Linked DNA regions of Homo sapiens: region 2 is linked to region 1. The links are contacts of gene promoters, found by promoter capture Hi-C in blood cells and fetal thymus (Javierre and others, 2016). All regions are on one chromosome and are shown on one strand. The core of a region is centred on a gene start or on the middle of the fragment in contact, and the rest is flanking DNA. Distances in the headings are between cores, read along the strand shown.

The links. Contacts are between HindIII fragments. The CHiCAGO score rates a contact against its expected background, and 5 or more counts as called.
Region 2: a fragment that was not itself captured here is called in contact with the fragment with the promoter of ITPR2-AS2 in region 1 in 1 of 17 cell types (M2 macrophages); the score reaches 5.5 in M2 macrophages.

What each region holds. Positions count from the first base shown.
Region 1 is chr12:26,314,848-26,320,751 of GRCh38, reverse strand. ITPR2-AS2 (ITPR2 antisense RNA 2) reads right to left here and starts at 1,828. Exons shown (of 6, transcript NR_199072.1): 1 at 1,748-1,828. RefSeq lists an enhancer at 2,086-2,135. The HindIII fragment of the contact is 7,262 bases long and covers 1-2,283 here.
Region 2 is chr12:26,275,062-26,280,705 of GRCh38, reverse strand. The region is part of intron 1 of LOC105369705 (a long non-coding RNA gene); the gene reads right to left. It overlaps LOC105369704 (a long non-coding RNA gene), which reads left to right and starts at 4,651. Exons shown (of 2, transcript NR_188068.1): 1 at 4,651-4,847. RefSeq lists enhancers at 5,469-5,518, 5,539-5,644. The HindIII fragment of the contact is 470 bases long and covers 2,672-3,141 here.

The sequences.
Region 1 (5,904 bases), core at 579-3,078:
CTAGTTACTCTATATAGAATTGCACTTCCTTTATTCTCTATCCTCTTACTCAGCCTTACTTTTCTTCATATTGATTATCACCCAGTATATTAAAACTCTGCTTATTGTTTACTCTCAAAAGAATGTAAACTTTTTGAGGGCAAAGACTTGATCTATTTTGTTCACTGCTGTTTTCCCAGTGCCTGAAACGTTACCAGACACAAAGTATGTGCTCAATAAAATGTATTTTGATGAGGATTCATACTTTGGTTTCTTCTGTGTGAAATGGAGATAATATGACTCTCTTTCACACTGGGACTTATCTGTTACAATGTTAGATTGTACTTCAGACTGCCTGCCAGGCCCTTGGGCCATCTTCAATAAGTCAGCTCAGGGAAGGCTGGTGTCCACTATTGACCTAAGCAAGCCAATGACAGCCTACACCTGAAGCAGAGAGCAGAAATGTTGAGATTATCGACTGCCCCTTGGCTTTGGTAAGAGGAATAAAAAATGGCTATGTTGTTTTAGAAAATATCACCTTGAAAGCTCCATGATGATGTACCAATTTGCTCTGATTGTCTCATAAAGCACCATTTTCCTTCCCCATATATTATGGAGCAGATGGCTCTCTTCTCAAAGGAAGCTGTGCCATTTTAAAACTTTTCTTCCCATGCAGGATGAGCCACTGGCTAAAATGGTGAGATCACCACCCATCCAGCCATGCTATTATAACCCAGGACACTCATGTAGGATTGAGGCCTGGAAAGTTAACTGCATGATTCCCAGGTGTTAGGGCTACTTACCAAGAATGCCTGCTTAACTTTGAAAGGAAGGTTTCCCTGGGAACATACATCCTGGTGAACAGGATCAGGTGTTGCTTAATAGATATTATGTAGATACAGAGTAAATGTCAGGCTTACATAGAGGAGTTGGCTGCTGAGGCAAATTTGTTCTTCAGCCTTGGCCAGCAACCCAGAATTTAAGGGAGGAGTCAAGGCCGGAAGCCACGTGCATTGAGGATCTAGGAAACCACCCACAGAGTCATCCTTCTTCCAGACTCAGCCTCCTCAGACAAAAAATCCCACTCTGTTCCCAGGCCGGAGAGCCTCCTGGGCTGGAATTGCTCAAGCCTCAGCTCACAGATGAGTCACTGTATTCATTTGCTCCACAGGTAGGCGTGTAGTTTGGCCCCATATGCAACAGACAGGCCAAGTTAACAGCAACTCGGGGAATTTCAAAATTGATTTTTATGGCAAAAAGAACACATGACCATTGTGATAGAAAATATTGGAACATACAGGCAAGCACCATAAATTTTAAAAAGAGCTGATAATCCCCAAACGCAGAGATTAAACATCATTAATAATTTCTTGTCTCACCTTCCAGGCTTTTGTCTATCCACCTGGGAGTACATATAGTGTAAAACAAATTGGATTATTCTAACAATGTTGTTTTACGGTCCTTCTCTATATACTATCCTACGGTGGACATTTTCCCAGGTCATTGATTATTCTGTTCTAGTGATTTTTTAATGGCCATACAACCTTCCAAAATAAAAATGTACCATAGTTTGTTGTACAATGCTTTACAGTTGAACATTTAGATAATTTTCAGTTTTTCGTTACTAAAGTTAACACTATGATGAGCATGATTGAACATACATATTTGTGTACGCCTCTGATTCCTGACTAAGAATAAATTCATTCAAATGAAATCATGCAACCAAAACATATGAGTATTTTCAAGGCTTAAAAAAGGTTTTACTTACTTATACTCCTACACTTGCGGCATGAAACAGGCCCTTTCCCAAAGGTGGCTTTTAGGTAAGGCTGCTTTGGTGGCCCAGACTAGGGTCCCCCTGCCTCTGATAGAGCTAAACTGTGCCGCAGGAAGCTGCCCCAGGGCAGCTGTGTGCAGAAGGCTGTTTTTGCCCCTTGGGGCCTTCCGGCTGCATTTTCTCATCTCTACAGCCGGGCCAGCTGAAGCATGTGGAGGTCAGGTGATGTGTGTGGGGTCATGCAGCCAGTGGTGACTCAGCCAAACCCACTCCAGCTCCTGAACCTTGCTCAGATCACAAGGCTGAGAGCACTCGCTTTCCCTGCAGCCCACAGTTTCCAAATAATTAAAAGAGGCTCCTTGTGCTTGAGTTTGTAGATATTAAGTTTTTGGAATGAGTGGTTCAGCCCCATGACCTTGTTAATTGGTGACACTAAATGCTGTATAATCCTGCCTTCCTTTTTCTTTCTGGAAACAATCAGAATAATTTGTTGAGCTTCCCTGCACTGTATAATTTGCAATGAAGCTTTGTGATGAGTCTATTCAGGTGCCCATCTGAGACTCAGATTCAAAGACATAACTGCTGAGCTGAATCAAAACAACAACTCTGGTACATCTGATTCATTATGACTCATGCATCAAACTCAAGCTGCCTATTAAGGTACTAGAACACTCTCACCAACATAAGAAAACCCCTGATGACAAAGATTGGCCAACTCTTGGGGATTATTGTCTCCTTCATCCATAATTCAGTAAGCCAAATTAAATTCAGGTGACCAATAGTTAAGTCAACCTAACAAGACTGTCTCTTCTCAGGTGGCTGGGCCAGCATGGGGGATGACTGCAGCTATTCCACAGGGAGTCTTTGCTTCCAGTGGTTTACTATCCCTGTATTACTCTCTGGAATGGAGCCTGTGAGCTCAAGGTCCTCTGTGGACATCATACTTTGTTCTGATTCTTAGCCATACACAGTGGGAGTTGAATCCCAGATGTCCTCTTATGGCCCAGCACCATTTGCACAGGGTTAAGAGAAAATGGAAGAGCATCAACCCATCCCCTCAGCTGGGAAATGACTCCTGACTCTTTTGCCAGGAGAATATATCAGTTACATCCTCTTTTGGGCATTCAGAGATGAGCCTAATATGTAAAAATTAAAGTAAACAGGCTGAAGAGACACCTACTTGTAGTATAGCTGCTGTATTATTTATCTGCATATATAAATGCACAGGCACGTAACCTAGCTGATTCTAAACTGCGTAGGTGAGTGTTTGCAGAACTAGGGGCTAGGAAGTTTTCTCAGTACCTATTTGCATGAGGCTGTGTTTCAGGAAGGCTTTTGGTTGTTAGCTGAAGGATGATGATGGAATTTAATGAGGAGTCCTTGGGACAGAGACTGAAATGGCGGGATGGCCTGGTATTTGGTTCCTATCAGGATATTGAGGGTGATTTGAGCTAGGAGGAATAAGGGATGACAGCCATGTCCTGGGCTTCGGCACTGCTCTGACACTCTGAAGGTCAGCAGAGTTGAAAGCCTTGCAGGTGAGCTGTTGGCATGGATGCCGGCGATGCTCGTGATAGGTTCTGCCAGTCATGGCAGGACTGAGGCTCCTTCAGAAGGTGTTGTGAGTAGAGGATGCTGAGGAGGGAGAGGGGGAGAAAGAGAAAGAATAAGGCAAATTCCACATGTGATTATATCTAATAGTCTGACTTATGAGTTCCTGTGGGAGAACTTAGAGGAAGTCCAGAAATACTTGGGGAGGCCTTACAGGGGTCTGCAGGGCAGGTTAGGCTAGAGCAGGAAACTCAGTTGTAAATGCTAATGCATCCATCACACCAAAGGCCCCTGTTTTTATACATCAGTCTTTTATTTCTTGGCATTTAGGTAATGGCTGGATTATTTGTTGTTGTTTTTGAGACAGGGTCTCACTCTGTTGCCCAGGATGGAGTACAGTGGCATGATCTCAGCTCACTGAAATCTTGACCTCCCAGGCTCAAGCAATTCTCGCACCTCAGCCTCCCAAGTAGCTAGGACTATAGGTGCACTACTGCCCCCAGCAAATTTTTGTATTTTCAGTAGAGATGGAGTTTCACTATGTTGCCCAGTCTGGTCTCAAACTCCTGACCTCAAGCAATCCACCGGCCTCAGCCTCCCAGAGTGTTGGGATTACAGGCAGGAGCCACCACCCAGCCAATTTCTGTTTTTTCATTATTAAAAATAACAGTGAGGAGGAGGGGGCAACATGGCCAAATAGGAACAGCTCTGGTCTGCAGCTCCCAGGTAGACCAACGCAGAGGGTGGGTGATTTCTGCATTTACAACTGAGGTACCCAGTTCATCTTGCTGGGACTGGTTAGACAGTGGGTGCAGCCCACAGAGGGCAAGCCAAAGCAGGGTGGGGCGTCGCCTCACCTGGGAAGCACAGAGGGTCAGGGAACTCCCTCCCCTAGCTAAGGGAAGCCATGAGGGACTGTGCCGTGAGGAAGTGTGCACTCTGGCCCGGATACTTCGCTTTTCCCATGGTCTTCCCAACCTGCAGACCACGAGATTCCCTCCAGTGCCTTTGCCACCAGGGCCCTAGGTTTCAAGCACAAAACTGGGTGGCCATTTGGGCAGACATCAAGCTAGCTGCAGGAGGTTTTTTTTTGTACCCCAGTGGTACTTGGAAGCCCAGTGAGACAACCATTCACTCCCCTGGAAAGAGGGCTGAAGCCAGGGAGCCAAGTGGTCTTGCTCAGTAGGTCCCACCACCACGGAGCCCAGCAAGCTAAGATCCACCAGCTTGAAATTGTTGCTGCCAGCACAGCAGTCTGAAGTCAGCTTGAGACGCTCGAGCTTGGTTGGGGGAGGGATGTCCACCATTACTGAGGCTTGAGTAGCTGGTTTTCCCCTACTCAAACAAAGCCGCCAGGAAGTTTGGACTGGGCGGAGCCCACCACAGCGTGGCAAAGCTGCTGTATCCAGACTGCCTCTCTAGATTCCTCCTCTCTTGGCGGGGCATCTCTAAAAGAAAGGCAGCAGCCCCAGTCAGGGGATTATAGGTAAAAATCCCATCTTCCTGGGACAGAGCACCTGGGGGAAGGGGCAGCTGCAGGCACAGCTTCAGCAGACTTAAACATTCCTGCCTGCCAGCTCTGAAGAGAGCAGCAGATCTCCCAGCACAGCCCTTGAGCTCTGGTAAGGGACAGACTGCCTCCTCAAATGGGTCCCTGACCCCCATGCCTCCTGACTAAGAGACAGCTCCCAGCAGGGTCGACAGACACCTCATACAGGAGAGCACCAGCTTGCATCTGGAGGGTGCCCCTCTGGGATGAAGCTTCCAGAGGAAGGAACAGGCAGCAATCCTTGCTGTTCTGCAGGCTCCACTGGTGATACCCAGGCAAACAGGGTCTGGAGTGGACCTCCAGCAAACTCCAGCAGACCTGCAGAAGAGGGGCCTGACTGTTAGAAGGAAAAATAACAAACAGAAAGCAATAGCATTAACATCAACAAAAAGGATGCCCACACAAAAACCCCATCCAAAGGTCATCAGCATCAAAGATCAAAGGTAGATAAATCCATGAAGATGAGGAAAAACCAGTGCAAAAATGTTAAAAATTTCAAACACCAGAATGCCTCTTCTCCTTCAAAGTATCACAGCTCCTTGCCAGCAAGGGAACAAAACTGGATGGAGAATGACTTTGACAAATTGACGGGAGTAGGCTTCAGAAGGTGGGTAATAACAAACTCCTCCAAGCTAAAGGAACAAGGTTCTAAGGAAGCTAAGAACCTTGATAAAAGGTTACAGAAAGTGCTAACTAGAATAACCCATTTACAGAAGAACATAAATGACCCGACAGAGCTGAAAAACACAGCATGAGAACTTCGTGAAGCACACACAAGTATCAATAGCTGAATCAATCAAGTGGAAGAAAGGATATCAGAGATTGAAGATCAACTTAATGAAATCAAGTGTGAAGACAAGATTAGAGAAAAAAGAATGAAAAGGAATGAACAAAGCCTCCAAGAAATATAGGACTATGTGAAAAGACCAAACCTACGATTTATTGGTGTACCTGAAAGTGATGGGGAGAATGGAACCAAGTTGGAAAACACACTTCAGGATGTTATCTAGGAGACCTTCTCCAACCTAGCAAGGCAGGCCAAAATCCA
Region 2 (5,644 bases), core at 1,657-4,156, 41 kb after region 1:
AGTAATGGGAAAGTCAGGGCTTTTAGTATATCCATCACCTGAATAACATACATTGTATCCATTAAGGAATATCTCATCGTTCACCTCCCTCCCTTATCCTTCCAAGTCTCCAGTGTCTATCCTTCTACACCCTACATCCCTGTGTACACATTATTTAGCTCCCACTCATAAATGAGAACATGTAGTATTTGTCACCCTGTTTATGAGCTGTTTCACTTAAAATAATGACCTCCAGTTCCATCCATGTTTTTGCAAAAGACATGATTTTATTCTCTTTATGGTTTAATAGTATGCCATTGTGTATATATGCCATATTTTCTTTATCTGGTCATCCATTGATGGACATTTAGGTTGATTTCATGACTTTGCTATTGAGAATAGTGCTATGATAAACACACGAGTGCAGCCATCTTTCTGGTATAATTATTTCTTTTTCAAGACAAGAAGTAGATACCCAGTAGTGGGATTTCTGGATCAAATGTAGTTCTACGCTTAGTTCTTTGGGTAATCTGTAGCAGTAGTCTAGGGATTGGCAGGGCGAGTTACACACACTCCCTTCCTAGGGCCTGTACCTCAGCTTCCTGGAGAAATGGCCTTGATTACTCTGATAACTACAACCAGCGCAGTACCTCCCTTAGATCTGGCAGCCAGGGCCCTGCCCCGTGTCTCATGCTTTGGAGGTTTCTGCCCTGACCTGGCCTGCTCTGATCCTAGCCAGATGAGTGAGGAGCCCACAGGTTTGAGGGGCACGCTTGCCCAGTCTACACACTCTCTCTTCTAGACCACTCTTTGGAGTCCTGGGGCCCTGTAATTTCCACCCAAAAAGCTCAAGGCCAAATTCTAGGACTTGCCTGATGCCTTTTCCCATGTTCGTCCTGGGGTAATAGCCAATGAGTGCTTTGTGAGAGGCAGGTGGTAGGGGTTGGGGGCTGTGTACCAGTGGGCTGAAGTGTCCAACATCTGTGCATGAGGCCCCCATGATGTGGGTTACAGCCTCTGTGTGTACTCCTGCCCAGATGCCCATGCAGGTCACAGGGTGAGAAACCCCACATATTTCTTTTCTGGAATGCTTTTCTCTTCCCATCAGCTAGGTCAGCTCATCAGTTCTCATGGTTTCAAATACCAGCTTCATACTTATTGGAACCCTTCCTTTACTCCCTGATATCAAACCCATCAGCAAATTCTCCTGATTCAAGCTCAAATGTCTTTTCTCTCCCTCTCTGCTGCTATCCCTTTGACTCAAGCCACCATTGTCTCTTGCCTGGACAACTGAGATAACCTATTCAGTGGTTGCTCTGCTTCCACTATTGGCCTCCTACAATCCATCCTCCTCATAGTGGCAAAGTGCTTTTCTGTTCATGTGAGCTGGATCATGCCCTTCCCCTGCATGAAAGGGAGAAATGACTTCTCACAGCCTTGTGAGCATGGCCCTTGCCTGCCTCCCCCTCCTCCTGTCATGCACTCTTCCTTCTTCTGCATACCTCTTCAGGCTGGCCCTTCAGTTCCTGCAGCACAGAGGCCTTTCCACACCTTGCACAGTCACCAGCATCTCACATGGGTTCTTTGCTGAAACACTGACTCCAAGAGCCTTCCCTGAGCCATCTAGCTAAAGATCACTCATTCCCTGCATTCATTCTCCTCAGCCCCTTGTGTGTCCCCAGCATAGCACTTAACGTATTTGAAATTATTACATTGTTTTGTTTTTTGTTTTTTTTTTGAGACAGAACCTCACTCTGTCACCCAGGCTAGAGTGCAGTGGCATAATCACGGCTTCAAATTCTTGGCTTCAGGCAATCCTCCCACCTCAGCCTTCCGAGTAGCTGGGATCACAGGTGCATGGCACCACGCCCAGCTAATTTTTCATTTTTTGTAGAGACAATGTTCCACTCTGTTGCCCAGGCTGGTCTCAAACTCCTGAGCTCAAGCGATCCTCTCACTTCAGCCTCTCAAAATGCTGGGATTACAGGCATGAGCCATTGTGCCCAGCCAAAATTAGTATTTCAAATCATGTGTTTTAAATTGCCTATGCTATTAGGATATAAGCTCTTTAAAGGCAAGGGCTCTGACTGTCTTGTTCATAGTTCTCTCCCCTGTGCCCAAAGCAGTGCAAGGCATGTAGCTGGCACTGGATAAACATTTATTATGTGTGCAATGAATACCAGGGAAGGATTTTTGGGTGTGGCAGACAGATAAGTGAGAATGCCATCTTCTATGTCCCTCGGGGACTCAGGCCCACTCATTTTTCCACACACCAGAGTCAACCACTGATGTTTCAATTTCCCTTTTCTCCTGATCACTCATGTTGGTTTCTAGATCCTCTGAATGTGCCCTCAGAGGGTCCTTGCTAATCTGTGTCTAAAGAAAGAATGTAAGACCCTGGCTAAAGCTTACCCTAAGAAATTCCACTAGGCCTTAGCTATTGAAGGAAACAGATTCCCACCCAAGAGTGACAGGTTACAGCTCTGCTCACAGGGAGACCCGTCCTCAGAGAGCCCCGTGGGGTTGCTGAGGCACAAAATTTACAGAAAGCCTTTCTGTTTGGGGTGGTGGGTTTTCACTGCTTTGTTTTCTTGTGTGCTCAGTGGCTTGTTCCTAACTCGCGGCCAATCACCACACTGCCAGATGGTGCGAAAGATTTACCGGAATTTCGTTTTCAAATAAACCACAAGCTTGGATGAGCTAATGTTGTTCCACATAAAAAAGCCACAAAACTGGACAAATTAACGTTGTTTCAAGAAAGGAAACTTGTCCGGGCCATCAGGTCTGCCCTCTCAGGGGGCACCAATATCTGCACCAAGACACTGGGGACGCCCCTGCCTCCCTTACCGCTGACTCCACAAAATAACTTAGGGGGAATTATATTTTCCTGTGGAACCAAATCATTTCTGTCAAGTTCATCTCAGTTGCACCAAGAGTCTGAGGATGGCAATGCCTCTTCCGGCCTGTCAGCAATGGTTGCAGTCTCTCCCAACACTGCCTGTGAGCGCTCCCGGGACAGGGCCACTAGCCCAGCAGGTCAGCTTGGGCTGCTTAGCAGGGACATTTAGCATGATTTATAAACCACAATGGCATGGGTGAGAGTGGCTTCCGGGAAGGCCCCACCCTCAGCAGCAGTGGCCATAAAGCCTAATGGAAAAAGCTTCCATGATTGGGATCCTGGATTCTCACCCCTGCTGTACCACTTAGCGGCAGAACCATGAACAGATTGAAAGACTCTAAAGAACATGATTTTCTCATTCTTAGGATGGAAACAGCCTGGGTGCGGTGGCTCACACCTGTAATCCCAGCACTTTGGGAGGCCGATGCAGGAGGATAACTTAAGGCCAGGAGTTTGAGACAAGCCTGGGCAACATAGCAAGAACCCCCCACTGCCCTTCTCAACAACAAAAAAGAGCCAGATGTGGTGGCACATGCCTATTGTCCTAGCTCAGGAGAATGAGGCAGGTGGATTGCTTGAGCCAAGGAGTTCAAGGCTACAGTGAGCTATGATCATGCCAGTGCACTCCAGCCTGGGTGACAGAATGAGACCCTGTCTCTAAATAGATAAATAAATAAATAAAAATAAAAAAGATAGAGATAATAATATTAAGCCAACAAGGTTGTTGTAAGGATAAAACTGAGTTAATATGTAAAGTCCTTTAGTGCTGTGCTCAACACACAAGAAGTGCTCCTCCCTACATGTGGACACTACATGGGATGATATGATGATGATGATGATGATGATGACGATGACGATGTCAGCCATGTGGCTGCCCCTCATCTTATAGCACTTATCTTGTCCATCTGGTGCTAAAGAGCCAGTCTCAGAGGAGGTATGTCATCTGCTTCCTATGGTCAGCTGAGTTGAACAAAATACCATGAAGTGATTCAAGCCAGGAAGTCAATCAATATAACTCAAGCTGAAAGAGCCCTTCTTTAAAGAATCTAAAGAATTGCCTCATCTTTCCTCCTTCCTTTTCTCAACCAAACAACAAAATGTTTTGCCTTAAGAATTAGATGCCTTAAGGATTTTGTTTTAAATTAGAATTTTATGAATGTCCTTCCTCTCTGAAATTTTATATTATAAATATGTGTAGAAATACTCTAAAGGGATGTCTGTGATCTGGGTGTTGGGATTTCATCTTGCTACATGGGATAATGAAATACGGAACTTATTTGAGCAGAGATTCAGGTCTATTGAGAATTATAACCAAAGTACCGCTTATTGAGCACTTTCTAAGCTAAACGACTTTATATACTTTATCGAATCCTTACTATAAATTTATATTTTCTCCATTTTGCAAATGAAAATTCTAAAGAAAAATTTTACTAGTTGTAAAAAGGCCATATCTGCTTGGCCATAAGACCTGTTTATGCTATTCTGTCTCACTAACAAATTTTTAGATAGAAGTCACTAGAGATGAACATTAGGCTAACCTTAAAAGATAATGATGGAGAAAAAGAAAAACACTCAAAATGCTTTACAAGTTTTACTTTAGTCTTCACAACCACCCTACGAGGTAGCAGCTTTTGTTGCCTTCATTTTACAGATGAGGGATCCAAGCAGAGAAATCAGTTGTGTGCCAGACTCACATAGCTGGTGGCCCGTAGCAGAGCTGGGATTCAAACCCAGGCAGTTTGACCTTGAGCTTTGTGTTATGCTGTCATAGGCAGGGGTCAGTCTCCTGAAGCCTTGCACAGGGAAGGAAATGTTCCCTTCCTTGTGCATTAGGCAAGCTGCCCTGAACTTCCTGCAGCACCCACCATAGAATAACCCACCAACTCCATAGGAAACCTCGCTTATGCACCCAGATCTGGTCTGTGATTTGCTACAGAAAGACAAGAAATGGCCTGTGGCTTCTTGCTAGGTATGTTGAAAAGCATGGTGGGGTGGGAGTGCAAGCCATGATTAATTGTTTGCTGATGTGGAAAGTCTATAAAGTTTGAACCACATTTCTCAGAAACATGAAGAGGAACAAATAATTTCTGGTCCATTAAGCCTTTTCTTACAGGGCTTCATATTGTTTTCTCAGGGGTTTTGTTTGTTTGTTTGACCTCAGAATGTGAGCAATAATGTGTCTTTTTTTTCCCTTTCTGGCTAAAACCAAACCTTTTGACTTCTCAGTTGATATAAACGTGCCCTTTCTCCCGCCCCTCAGACTTGTTCTTTCTTTTTTTTTTTTTTTAAGATGGAGTCTCACCCTGTCACCCAGGCTGGAGTGCAATGGCGCAATCTTGACTCACTGCAACCTCCGCCTCCTGGGTTCAAGTGATTCTCCTGCCTCAGCCTACGGAGTAGCTGGGATTATAGGCGCTCGCCACCATGCCTGGCTAATTTTTTTGTATCTTTAGTAGAGATGGTGTTTCACCATGTTGGCCAGTCTGGTCTCAAACTCCTGACCTCGTGATCCGCCCGCCTCAGCCTCCCAAAATGCTGGGATTACAGCAGGGCCACCGTGTACGGCTGACTTGTTTCATTTCTTAGAGCTAAAATGAGGTTTGGAGAAAGCTCTGTTCATTTTGAAGCCTCAGTCTTCACCCCAACACTCCTGGATCCTGGCTGGAGGAGCTGTGATTACCCGAGATAGGAAAACCCTGGCAGCTCAGCTACAGGCCTAAATAAACAGTGAATCTTCTTGCAAGCAGCCCATCTGGGCTTCAAATG